Regions from separate parts of the Homo sapiens genome. Here region 1 is linked to region 2. The links are contacts of gene promoters, found by promoter capture Hi-C in human tissues and cell types (Jung and others, 2019). All regions are on one chromosome and are shown on one strand. The core of a region is centred on a gene start or on the middle of the fragment in contact, and the rest is flanking DNA. Distances in the headings are between cores, read along the strand shown. Region 1 overlaps C18orf61 (a long non-coding RNA gene). Region 2 holds the start of CIDEA (cell death inducing DFFA like effector a).

The links. Contacts are between HindIII fragments. The study calls those that stand out against the background at their distance.
Region 1: a contact is called between a fragment that was not itself captured here and the fragment with the promoter of CIDEA in region 2, in 5 of the 25 tissues and cell types used here (IMR-90 fibroblasts, bladder, hippocampus and 2 more).

What each region holds. Positions count from the first base shown.
Region 1 is chr18:12,214,660-12,220,824 of GRCh38, forward strand. It overlaps C18orf61 (a long non-coding RNA gene), which reads left to right. Exons shown (of 5, transcript NR_049896.1): 4 at 3,989-4,173. Among named protein-coding and RNA genes, the nearest start is that of C18orf61, 17 kb to the left of the region's middle. The HindIII fragment of the contact is 5,582 bases long and covers 1-4,552 here.
Region 2 is chr18:12,253,055-12,258,611 of GRCh38, forward strand. CIDEA (cell death inducing DFFA like effector a) reads left to right here and starts at 1,307. Exons shown (of 5, transcript NM_001279.4): 1 at 1,307-1,367. The coding sequence starts at 1,330. LOC105371996 (a long non-coding RNA gene) reads left to right here and starts at 1,959. Exons shown (of 2, transcript XR_935158.3): 1 at 1,959-2,377; 2 at 2,525-4,402. RefSeq lists enhancers at 443-1,049, 5,205-5,557. The HindIII fragment of the contact is 10,266 bases long and covers 1-2,663 here.

The DNA.
Region 1 (6,165 bases), core at 512-3,011, 38 kb before region 2:
CACCTAAGAGGACCAGGGAGTTAAGTCCATGTTTTATGCCAAAGCCCATTGTTTTCCAGCAGCCATGACATCATTTCTTACTGTATTGGTAAACACTTGGTAGAGACACTCACCTTTAAAATCTCCTGTGGTTGGTGGTTTCATGAGTATGTTGTGTGTTCCTGGCAAGGTATTGTACAGCACTGCCTATGAGGCATGGAGGAGTCTCACATGAAGGCCGCCTGCATCCTGGGGGAGTTCCTGAAGCTACTGCCCATGTTTCTCACAGGGAGGCCAGGGAAGATCAGCCCCATTCTGTACACAGGCAAGCCATGAACTGAGGACATCCCTTTCAGGGTATGAATTCTGAGGAATGTTTCTAAGGTGTAGAGAAACATGAAAAACTGGAAATCCATTATGTCTGGAGGTAAAAACAGAAGACCAGAGGGACAGAAGAGCTTGTGCAGTGGTCAGAGGCAGGGATATTTGGTGTGTTTGCTCCTCTGCTCACCTCGCTTTTCAACCTCCCTGCTGGATTTTTGAAGTCATTTGGGTCTGGGTGTCCCATTTTGGTGAGTGGCTTGGACTGGAGGAAGTCCATAGAGTATGGCAGAGGGTACTGAAGGCTGAGGTAGAATGAGGTAAATGGGAATTGGATAAGATGCACTGGCTGCATTTGGTGACATTTCTGCCTGAGTAGGTATTCAAATATGCACCGCCACTTCTTGGTCCCCCTGAGACAGCTGGAGAACTGAACTGACTTTCACTGCTCTGTAATCAGATTGTTTGTAGTAGTTTAATTTACTCATCAGGTGACAATAATTATTGAAAATATTCCTAAAATGAACTTTCTGCCATTATTATGAATAGCGAAGAAAATTGAAGCTTTCTTGGGAGATCAACAAAATGCTGACTTGGTTTCTATGTATGCCTCATGGGTCATAGCACCCAGCCACTAGCCAGTGCTTGCACCCTTTGCTGGCCCCAGGACTAGGAGGTCAGGGTAGCCTCTCTGATGAGCCTCTGACCTCCAGCCTCAGTAATGGCAGCACCCCTTCTCCATGGACTTCCACACCAAGGTCCAGAAGCAGGTGTCAGAGAGAGAGAGAGAGACCGAGCTCCTCCTCACAGGGGGTTGCCGAGGGCCCCCTGGGCTCTGCCTAGAATGCTCTTGGAGAAGTGCAGATGGAGAAGCGGATTAGAGGCTCCAGTGGTTGGGTCCAGTGAAACTAATCAGAGTGCTAGAGACAGGAGAAGACATTTAGGTTAATTTTATCTCTTTCCACATACAAAAACTAAGGCCCTATTTTTAAATGAAATTGTTTTTCTTCCTTTTAAGTGTCTCTAATTGTACCTGACTTTTGCTGACACTCTCGACGTTCAACCATATATTCACAAAACTTCATTCATGTTTGTCATGAGGGATGCATTTCTCACCTGCTCGGACAGGTGAATGCACCATCCAGATGTCCCTATATACATCACATGAAGGAGGTAACAGATGAGTCATCCACACACTAACACAGATGAGTTTATCAAACGCAGCCATTAAGGATGGGCCCATGTTACCAAGGGACAGAGTGGGGGAAGGTGCTCATTCCAAGAGGCTGCTGCAAGAGTTCAGTCAACCCAGGACACCTAGAGCCATCTGGGCCTGAAGCCAGGGGCTGGCAAGTGACAGAATGGACCACAGAGTCTTCTCTTTCTCCTTCCACATTTTCAATAGACCATATACTGTCATAGTATTTTGTGAAACATTTAAAAATCTAAAGTACAACCTACATACAGAAAACACATGAAACCTAAATACACAGCTCTGTAACTTATCACAAAGTGAGCACCCATGGAACTACAAGTCAGGTCAAAAACTAGAAGTTACCTGCACCCCAAAACTGTCCTTCTATCTCCTCCTTTCCAAAGCTAGCCACTACAACTTTGTGTGCTAGAGTTCGCTCTCTTTTAGTTTGTGCTTATTATAAATAGAATAACTCAGGATGTGTGTTCCTGATGGATGTGTGGCGGCTGATGACAGAACTACAAGGAGAGCAGTGCCATGCACTAAACCCTGATCTTGTTCTGGGCATTGGGCTAAAGCTTTCCGTGGCTCATTCCATTTAGTGGCTGGAAGTTGCAGAGGTTTCAGAAGCTCATCCAAGATTCTGGAGCCTCCATCTCCAGCCCTAATGCTGTCCGCCTTTTCACCCAGCCACCACCTGTTTCAGGAGAACACACAGAAGTGATGACCTTTTCTGGACAGGCAAGTAAATCCTGCTGTTTTTATTATTCACGGAAAAAACACTGGCTCATGGGAGGTGGGAAGGTGACAAACTCATTCTCCCTGGACCTCAGGAACCACAGATAGGATTATACTGACTACCAGTATTTTATTCCGTTAGTTCTACCTACATGAGTCCTGTAGTATTGAAATGCGTTAGGTTAGCATTTTTGGCCGATGTACTTTACATTCTGGGTTAGAGGTTTTTAAGATTCACCTGTGTAAGCTGACTTAGTTTTCTGTAAGTTTGTGAAAAAGTACAAAAATGGTGATCTCTTTTATCATACAAATAATTTCTTTTTAATAGAATGTTTTTTCTAATTAATGTATTAATGTACTCTTCATTCAACACATTCGCTTACATTTGAACTATTTTATGAATGAATGTTTAATTGCATAGGTGAAGATTACTAGTCACGGGCATTTTACTAACTGATTCTCATTAGGCATAGGTTCATGTGATTTCAAGGAGCTATGTTTTGTTTGGTAAAAGTAATAAAATAGCACAAGAATGAATGCAAGCACTGAAGCACGATGGAGGCGCCTGTCATGACTTGTCTATGATTTACATCACTCGTTATCTTTCCAGGTTGCTTATCATCCTGATAATTGTCATCAGCATTGTTTGGGTCCTTCTAGCACAGTTTCACAAAATGGGCAACTCTTCCATTAGGTAGAAATAATTCCATTTGAGCCTTTAATTGCATCTGTCTTCCAGCTTCTTCTTTTGGAAGAGTTAATTAAAGGGTAGATACATTAGAAATTTTTTTTCCACGTTAGAATGAGCAAACCACAATGTTCATTTCACTGGAGTAGCAGAATGCTTCCTTTTGACCTCCCAAGCTCATCTCAATTTCATTGCAGTAGCCCCATTTCCTAATGCTCACCAAAGTGTGTAAGTACAGAGGGCGTTCCTGTAGTCAGGTGTTTCTATTTCTTATGATCTGTGATATTTATACATAGCACAGTGCTCAGCAGCACAGATTTGGGAGTCAGGATGCTTGGATCCAGTCCTTACTCTGATACTGAATAGAATTGTGATCTTGAGCAAATCCCTTGAATCTATGTAAAAGTATTATAATTCTACCTTATTTTTGAGGTTCCTGAGACGATTAAAGTTTTTTTTTTTTAATGAAGCCCTGGAGCACTAGATGTACCCTTATCATTATTATTATTATTTTCAGGTGTTGGTCAGGTTCAGAGACATTAATATCTCTTTGTCTTTATCTTCATCTCTCAAAATCATCTGCTTGCCTTTATGCAATACTGTTTTTCTTAAATGTAATTCCTTGCACAGGAAGACTGGGGATTACCACCAAATTTTGAAAGTAAATAAAAGCTCTTAATTATCAAAAATTTTAATGGAACTGTGAAAACCACCTAATATCAACTTTCTAAATTGTATAACATAAGTCAGTTCTGTTTATTCTACAAAGTGAATATTTTTGAATCTATGTATAATTAATTATATTAATTACATTTTTCAAGGAAACCCACCATTTTGGATCATGGAGTGCAGGATTTATGAGTCTCCTGGAGGCTGGAGAATCAAAGTACAAAGCCGTGTTCCAGCTCTGGAGTGCAACAGCCCACTACTAAATACACATGTATTTGCAGCCTTTTTGGCTCAAGGCTAGATGCTTGTCAGTCCTTAGGTTGAGAAAGCAGGCATGGTGACAATTATGACCTCTCCTATTTCCTCAAATCTCTGATTCGTTCTTGCTTCTAATGCAGGATACCCTCTGAGGTCAAATCATTGGGCTTGTGGCCATGAGACCACAGACTTTGCCTAGCTTCCAGTGACTGTCCGAGATGACCTGTGGAGTGCACCGCCTGTACTTGGACATCACTGTCTTTTCCGATCCATACCCGTCATCCTTGGAATTTCCCCTGCATCCAAACCTGTTCCTGATACAGGTGTGAGTAATGAGTAAGGAATTTATGGTTTTATTTAAAGATAGGAGCTTTGCTTTTTAAAACTGCTACTCATGTACAGGTCCCAGGCCAGTGGAATCATGGCAACACAGATTCCCAGAGCTAGAAGGAACGTGTGGTATCATTCAGTCATCCAATCAAATAATATTTGCACCTAATCTGTACAAGGAACCAGTGACATAAGGAATAAAGGATTAGAAAATGGGCTCCACATAAAATTTTTTAAAGGAAAACCTCACAATGCAATTGAGAGGAATATTTGCACCGTTCTTTTTGGATATCAGGAAGTAAATAGTGTTCCCCATGAGAATGGGAAAGACTTCACAGCGGAGCTGCCATCTGGGCTGGACCTGTTTGTGGGTGAGTAGCATTTCACACACAGCATGCACCAGCACAGAGATAAAAAAAAGTTCATGGAAACTGTGAGCAGAAAGAAGCAAAATAAAACACTGAGGTGTGCTTTTGTCTTTCAGGTTGTCACAGATGTTTAATACAGGTTAGCATCCCAAATCCAAAAATCTGAAATCCAAAATGCTCCAAAACCCAAAACATTTTCAGCTTCTAAATGATGCCCAAAGGAAGTGCTCGCTGGAGCATTTCAGATTTCAAATTTTTGGATTTGGAATTCTCAATCAGTAAGCATATAAAATGTAAACATTCTGAAATCTGCAAAAACCCAAATCGGAATCACTTCTGGTCCCAATCATTTCAGATAAGGGATACTCAGCTCTCGTGTGTAACATTCAGTGTTGGTGAGGATGGGGGGTAACACCCACTCTCTGTAACTGCTAGAAGCATATGAATTTGTATGATTTGTAAGAGGGCAATTTGGGAGGACCTATCTGTTTTAAAATTCTCCTAACCCATGGATCTCATCCCATTTCTAGAGTCTTTTATGTAAAATATTTCTACCATTAGGAGAAATATATGCAAGGGGACTTTCTATGTAGCAATGTTTTAATAAAATAGAAAATTGGGACAAACCAAATTTCCATCACAAAGGAAATAGATACACAAATAATAATACACTGAATATTATGCAGGTTTTAAACATCAGAAAAGGGCTCAGCTTCTGATCTCCAATGATGGTGTTGAAGTGGGTCACAGCCGGTTTACATTTGGTTTTCATGTGGGAACTCTGGGTGTCTGCCTTAGTTTAATGATTTTATATGTCACTAAATTCAGCTAATGAAAAGCTATTCCATGCATGGCAAAACGGAACTTGAAAACAGTTTCTTGTCAACAATCGAGTGGACCTGTTTTATGTACAACCCACGCCTTCATCTGCCTGCCCCTCAGTCTGTCTGTCCTCACAGTCCTCATTCATTAGTGGAACTGAGTGCCCACTGTTGGGTTGACGATCAATTCCATAACCTCCCTGTTCCTAGTCACACATTAATTCTTCAGTACATCCCTTTGGGATCACTTGGGATTAAACCTCCATCTCCAATTTCTTCCCCAGACGTATTTCTCACTCTTCTCCCAGCACACCCTTCAGCCCATCCATGCAGGTTTCTTTGCTTTTCCCACTTTACACCAAACTCTCTGTTTGTTGTTTTTTTTTTCTTTTGAGACGGAGTCTCGCTCTGTCACCCAGGCTGGAGTGCAGTGGCGCGATCTCGGCTAACTGCAAGCTCCACCTCCTGGGTTCACGCCGTTCTCCTGCCTCAGCCTCCCGAGTAGCTGGGACTACAGGCGCCTGCCACCACGCCCGGCTAATTTTGTTTTGTATTTTTAGTAGAGACGGGGTTTCACCGCCTTGGCCAGGATGGTCTCAATCTTCTGACCTCGTGATCTGCCCATCTCGGCCTCCCAAAGTGCTGGGATTACAGGCGTGAGCCACCGCGCCCGGCCCAAACTCCCTGTTTTTACTCCAACTTTTACCTCCTCTTGAAGACAAAACAAGCAAACAAAACTGTAACAGTATTTTTAAACTTAGCTGTAATCTTTCTTCCTTCATGAACATTTCTCCAAAA
Region 2 (5,557 bases), core at 57-2,556:
GACCTGAATTGATTGGACCCATTTTCTCATCCATCACATTGGGGCTGTGAGTGGGAGGGGCAGTGAATGACCTCCTAAAGCTGTGTCCGCTCAGTGCCTCTGGGGGAAGCTGCCCCCTGTGAGCCTGGAGCTGGGTGTTCCCAGCAGGCGGAGTCCTTGACTCTGGAAGGCAATTGCCTTTGGCTTCAACAGTCCTGCAAGTCACAAGGCTTGTTGACCACGGTGACCCTTTCTGAGAGCCAGCGGAGGAAGAGGGCGGGCATAGGGTCAGGTCTTAAGAGATCAGGTCAGTCTGCTCAAACCAGGTGGGCTCAGGAGGAGCCGGCGAGGGTCCCGCTGCAGCTCCCGAAACGCTGTTTCCAGGCGGCAGTCAGCAGTTGGGCACGAGAGGATATCCTAGCAAGCCTCCATCCCAGAAAGTTACACCTCTTACTGCCCGAGTCCCACCCCTCAACACTGAGCCCACCTCTTCAGTCCTGTAGTGAGGGGTTCTGGGAACCCCTTGTAACTGCCCGCCTTCCTCGGAGGTCTCAGAGGCCCTAATTGCGTCTTCCGATGGGAACAACCATGAGAGCAGGGTGTGGACGGAAGTCCCCCAGCCCCAGCGGGGTTCACTCTTTGCCTCCTCACTCTGCGAGGGTCCCTTACTACAGCTAAAAGGCAATTCATGCAGTCCAAAGGCTCCTTTCCCCTCCCGTTCTGCATGCCCTTCTCACTGTCCCCAAATGCTCATGACATGGCCTTGAGAGCAGCGCAGCGGGCAGGAAGCCCAGGCGCCTCGGAGAACCTGAAGGGCTGCAGGTCCCGGTGTCTGCGGCAGCTTCCGCATCCCTGCAGGGAACCAGCGGCTCGCTGAGCCTGGGGCTGGGCTCTGGGGGACTCCAGAGCTGGAGGCAAGTGGCGCTCACATCCGTCTCCTCACCTGCCCCACCCGTGGCCTGGGTTTAAAATCCACATACCCGTCTTTCCGCGGCCAAAGTGATGCTGCCAGGATTGGTTATGACCCCAACTGCCCCGACCCCCAGAAGTGCAAAACGAACAGGCTGGCAAGTGACCAAAAGAGACCCGGGGAGCATCTGGGCTTCCAAGGTCCTCGGTACGGCCCAAGGCAGCGAAGGACGCGCGGCTCCAGGCTGCGGGAGCCAGGACGACCGGGGGCTCCCAGAGCGCGAAGTCGCGATCCTCGGCGGTGGAGAGCTCGTGCCAAAACGTCCTCCCCTGCGCCAGTCAGGCCTTCGCGGGGCTGGCAGGCGGGCGGGGGCGGGGCCGCCGCACTTTAAGAGGCTGTGCAGGCAGACAGACCTCCAGGCCCGCTAGGGGATCCGCGCCATGGAGGCCGCCCGGGACTATGCAGGAGCCCTCATCAGGCGAGTGCCCCGCGTCCCCCTGATTGCCGTGCGCTTCCAATCGCCTTGCGTTCGGTGGCCTCATATTCCCCTGTGCGCCTCTAGTACCGTACCCCGCTCCCTTCAGCCCCCTGCTCCCCGCATTCTCTTGCGCTCCGCGACCCCGCGCACACACCCATCCGCCCCACTGGTGCCCAAGCCGTCCAGCCGCGCCCGCGGGCAGAGCCCAATCCCGTCCCGCGCCTCCTCACCCTCTTGCAGCTGGGCACAGGTACCAGGTGTGGCTCTTGCGAGGTGCGCGGGCGTCTGCAAACCAGGTGACAGCTGGCGAGTGGCTGCATGCATCTCTGGCCGCTGCTGCAGTCGCGGGCGCAGAAGAGGGTCCGGTCCCAGGAACCCCGAGCAAAGCTTCCGCGATGCGAGGGGACCGGGCTTCTGGGGGTCCTGGAAATCACAACGGGAGCTGGGCGCGGGAGGGGCCCAGGCTTGGCCCCTCCTGGAAGCGCGGGCTCTGGTCTCCGAGGGGAGGCCCCAACCGTCCGGCGGAGCCCTCCAGGTTGGTGGTGCTGGGAGAAGCGCTCCTCCTTGCCTCCGGGTCCAAGGGCGGAGACGCTGCCTGGGGAGCAGGGGGGACAAGGGGCGGGTGGACCCTGAGGAGTCTTCCCTGCGCTTCGCACCCGCTCGTGGTCGAACAGGCAGCATTGGCTATTTTCCTGCTTGGGTTAATATTCATATCCCAACAGACCCAAGCCAATTCTTGGTAAAATCCTAAGTCATTGCGTGGCAGCAACTGTAAAGTAAGGTCTAAGAGGGAGATCGTGTTTCTCTGAAGATCAAGTACCTGGAAAAGGATAGAGAACCATTTGCGGGCTTGAAGGTGCAGGCGTTCAGCGGCGCCGGGTCCCACTGTGTGTGCTACGTGTGGCGGGCAGAGAGACTACATGTGTGAAAGGGAGCGGTCCGGCTACGAAACGCAATCTATGAGCTTCCAATCCCGGGTTCTTAAATGGGAGCTGTTGTAGACACTGCAGGTTAGAAGCATCTTTCTCTTTAAAAATAAGCCCACAGTACAAGTCGGGGCGGTGGCAGGGGGACGCTGAGAAACACCTGCTTCGTGTATGGTCATTAACACGCTTAGGCCTAAAGGTCAGGGCCCTGTATCTTTTGCGTTCTTCCAGAACCATCCACACCACAGTCCCACTTCCAGGAGGGGAGGTCTTAGCAGTTTGGAATGCGTCCTTCCAACCACTTTTCCAGTGAATTCACAACACACCCACTGTTCCTCCGGAGCATGGGGGAAGGAGGTGTGGGCTGACTCGCACTAACCAATCCTGGTTGGCCTCTGAGCAGGATTCAGGCTGAGCCTGTCCCTGCCTCTGACTATTATAACAGCTCACCAAAATCCAAAATGCATCTGTGTGGGGTCTCTGTGAGGTCGTGTGAAGTGGAAGTGACTTGCTTATGAGCTGTTGACAAATGAAACATTGGGAAACCTTGAGTCTCCTAGGACACATTCCTTCCAGCTTGGCTCATCCCAGGAGTGAATGACTCTACCTGTTATGGACAAGCTGTTGCTGCAGTTCTTTGAAATCTACCTGCTTCCAGGCTGAACTACTGTCATTCTGTGAAATCTACCTGCTCCCAGGCTGAACTACTGTCATTCTGTGAAATCTACCTGCTCCCAGGCTGGACTACTGTCATTCTGTGAAATCTACCTGTTACCAAACTAAACTGGAAGAAAACAATCTGTAATTCTTGTTGAAGGGAAAACACCTTTTCTTCCCTGCCCCTCTCTAAAACCCTGTCCGGGCAAAAGAGCCAGAGGCCAGGTCCTAACATATTTGCTAATTGTGCTCTTGCTGGACTTCGGCTTCCTCTCAGGGTTCCTTAATTTAAACCAGGTCCAGGATGTCATAATTCTGTCTTTATTAGTAACTACATTTTACCAAGGAAAGAACCGAATCAATGTGCACAAAAATTTTTAAAAATCAGGTACTTGTAGTCAGTGGTGAAACCTTAACCCAGGCATTTGTTAGTCAGCTAGAATCGTTAGGGGCCTTGGTCCTGAGGAAAGCAGCCTGAGGTCTCACAACAAAGCTCCAGACATCAAGGAGGTCCACATGCAGGTTGACTATCACAGACAAAGTCTGCTCTGTTCCTGTGTTCTGCCAGTGATAACATTCCTGCCAAACGCTGAAGTTGTTATGAAGCTGGTACATGTTATAAGCTTCGTGTGAAATGGCTGCTTTCATAGCTATCTAGCACATTTTTCCTTTCCTTGAACAAGGAACTCTAGGTTTTGTGCTGCTATTTCAGTACAAATTTCACCAGTCTTCTTAGTGACATTAGTAAGGAATTAAGTATGCTACAAGTCAATCTCTCAGCTTTCTGCTTCTTGAATTTAAATTCTTATTTTAACGAAACTGCAAAGTGTTCAAAGACTTCATGGTCATGTATTGAACACTTGATAATGTCAAGCCTTTAGGTAGCTTGCGAAGAACTGAGCCATGAACCAGGCAGTCCTTGTCGGGGCGAGTTTATCTGGGGGGTAGGTGTGCTCCCACCTGCATATGTCACGTCCAAGAGCCCTAGGGGAGCCGGGCAGCAGGAAGTCTCGTCAAGGCAGCACTTGCTTCCCTGCTTCCTGCCACTGACCCCACCATCCTCTGACACTGTCTCTACAGCTCAGGGACTCTTCTCCAGGCCTGTGGAGCACTTTCCCAGCCCTCCCTTCCTTCTCTGCGTGGCTGTGCTTGACCTCACACTTCCCTCCTTGGCATTCCCTGCTGCTCTTGGTGACAGTGCTCGGTTGGCTTCTGTCCAATTCCTGTGTACTGCTTCTTCCTCCCACGGTGGCTGCCTCTTTTTCTTCCTAATGATGAGATGCAGAGTTCCCTCAGCCATCACTGCCCCCTGAATATTCCCAGGCACTATTTTACACAGCCTGTACTGCTGCCCCCTCACCCATGACACCAAAATATTTCACTTTGAGGAAGACCTTAATACTGGGCCCTTTTCCTCCATAGGTGGCATGTAAAGAAAGCTTTTTAATTCTCTGTACGGCTCAGGTTTGTTTTACTGGAGAAGAGTTCAGGTCTACTGTCAGTCTGTGGCTTGTTGGTGTATTTCACACACTTTTGGAAGTTGGCGGCGCCCTGCCTCCCTCGGGGCAGAATACAAAACCTTCCCTTCCCACCTGTTCCTGAGAGACATGCCGTTTCACAGCGTTCTATGAAGTCTGACTTTTCCTCTCTGGATTTCTGTGAAACAGCCTACTTCCTTAAACAAACTGTTTCCTTATATCTTCCCTGTTAGAGGGTTATTTCCCTTTCTGTTTCCTGTGGTTGTGTGCCCCCACTTTCACAGGAATTAGGAGCGGCAGTTCTCATGTGTGGTGTGTCTAAACGCAGGATCCTAGGGCCGCTCAGTGGCCCTGCTTTTAGGCACGGTGCTGATGGCCAGTGATAGAGATGACTCTACTCAGCGGGCTGGAGGTGACTTGGGTGGAGACGGTGGCTTGTTCATGTAGCAGCAGATTCGGTACCTGTAGGGTCCTGGAGTACATAGGCCTGGCGTGCAGAACATCTCATTCAACCCCTTTCTGTGTTACATATGAGACAGCCTTGATTTTACATAATTTGACCCAGAAATCACTCACCTCCTCCTTGACAAGAAGGTGGGGTGTAAATTTCCTTTCCTCTGTGCCCCCACCAGCCTTTCCTCCAGCAGTGACGCAGCTCTTGGTTTGGAAATGCTACAGGTGAGAACAATAGGTGTTTTTTCACTGACGATGGCAATCTTGAGGGCAGGTGAAGGCAGGGAGAACCAGAAATGGTTGCCAGCTCTTATCTTGTCAGACAGGTAAAGACCGCAGGAACCTGGAATTAATCATCTGGGCCAGGTCACCGGAGCACAGGTGCTTACGAAGGCGTGAGCATGTTCGTCCAATGAGGAGATGCAGGGCCAGGGCTGCGCCTTTGACCACTGGGGCTGGACCTAGCATTGGAAGACATGGACCATGTTCTCTCATTTCTCTGATTTTGGCCTAGCATCTTTCACTCAGTAAATAGATGGCGTGCTGACAGGCGCTGTGGGAAAGTAGGAGATGCACCGCCAGACTCCGTGAGACAGATGCTAGAGGCCTTGTGCAAGACTGTGGTGACTTCCTGCCTTGGGGGCGAAGAGGGGCTCTTTCTCGCTGCTGAGGCCGG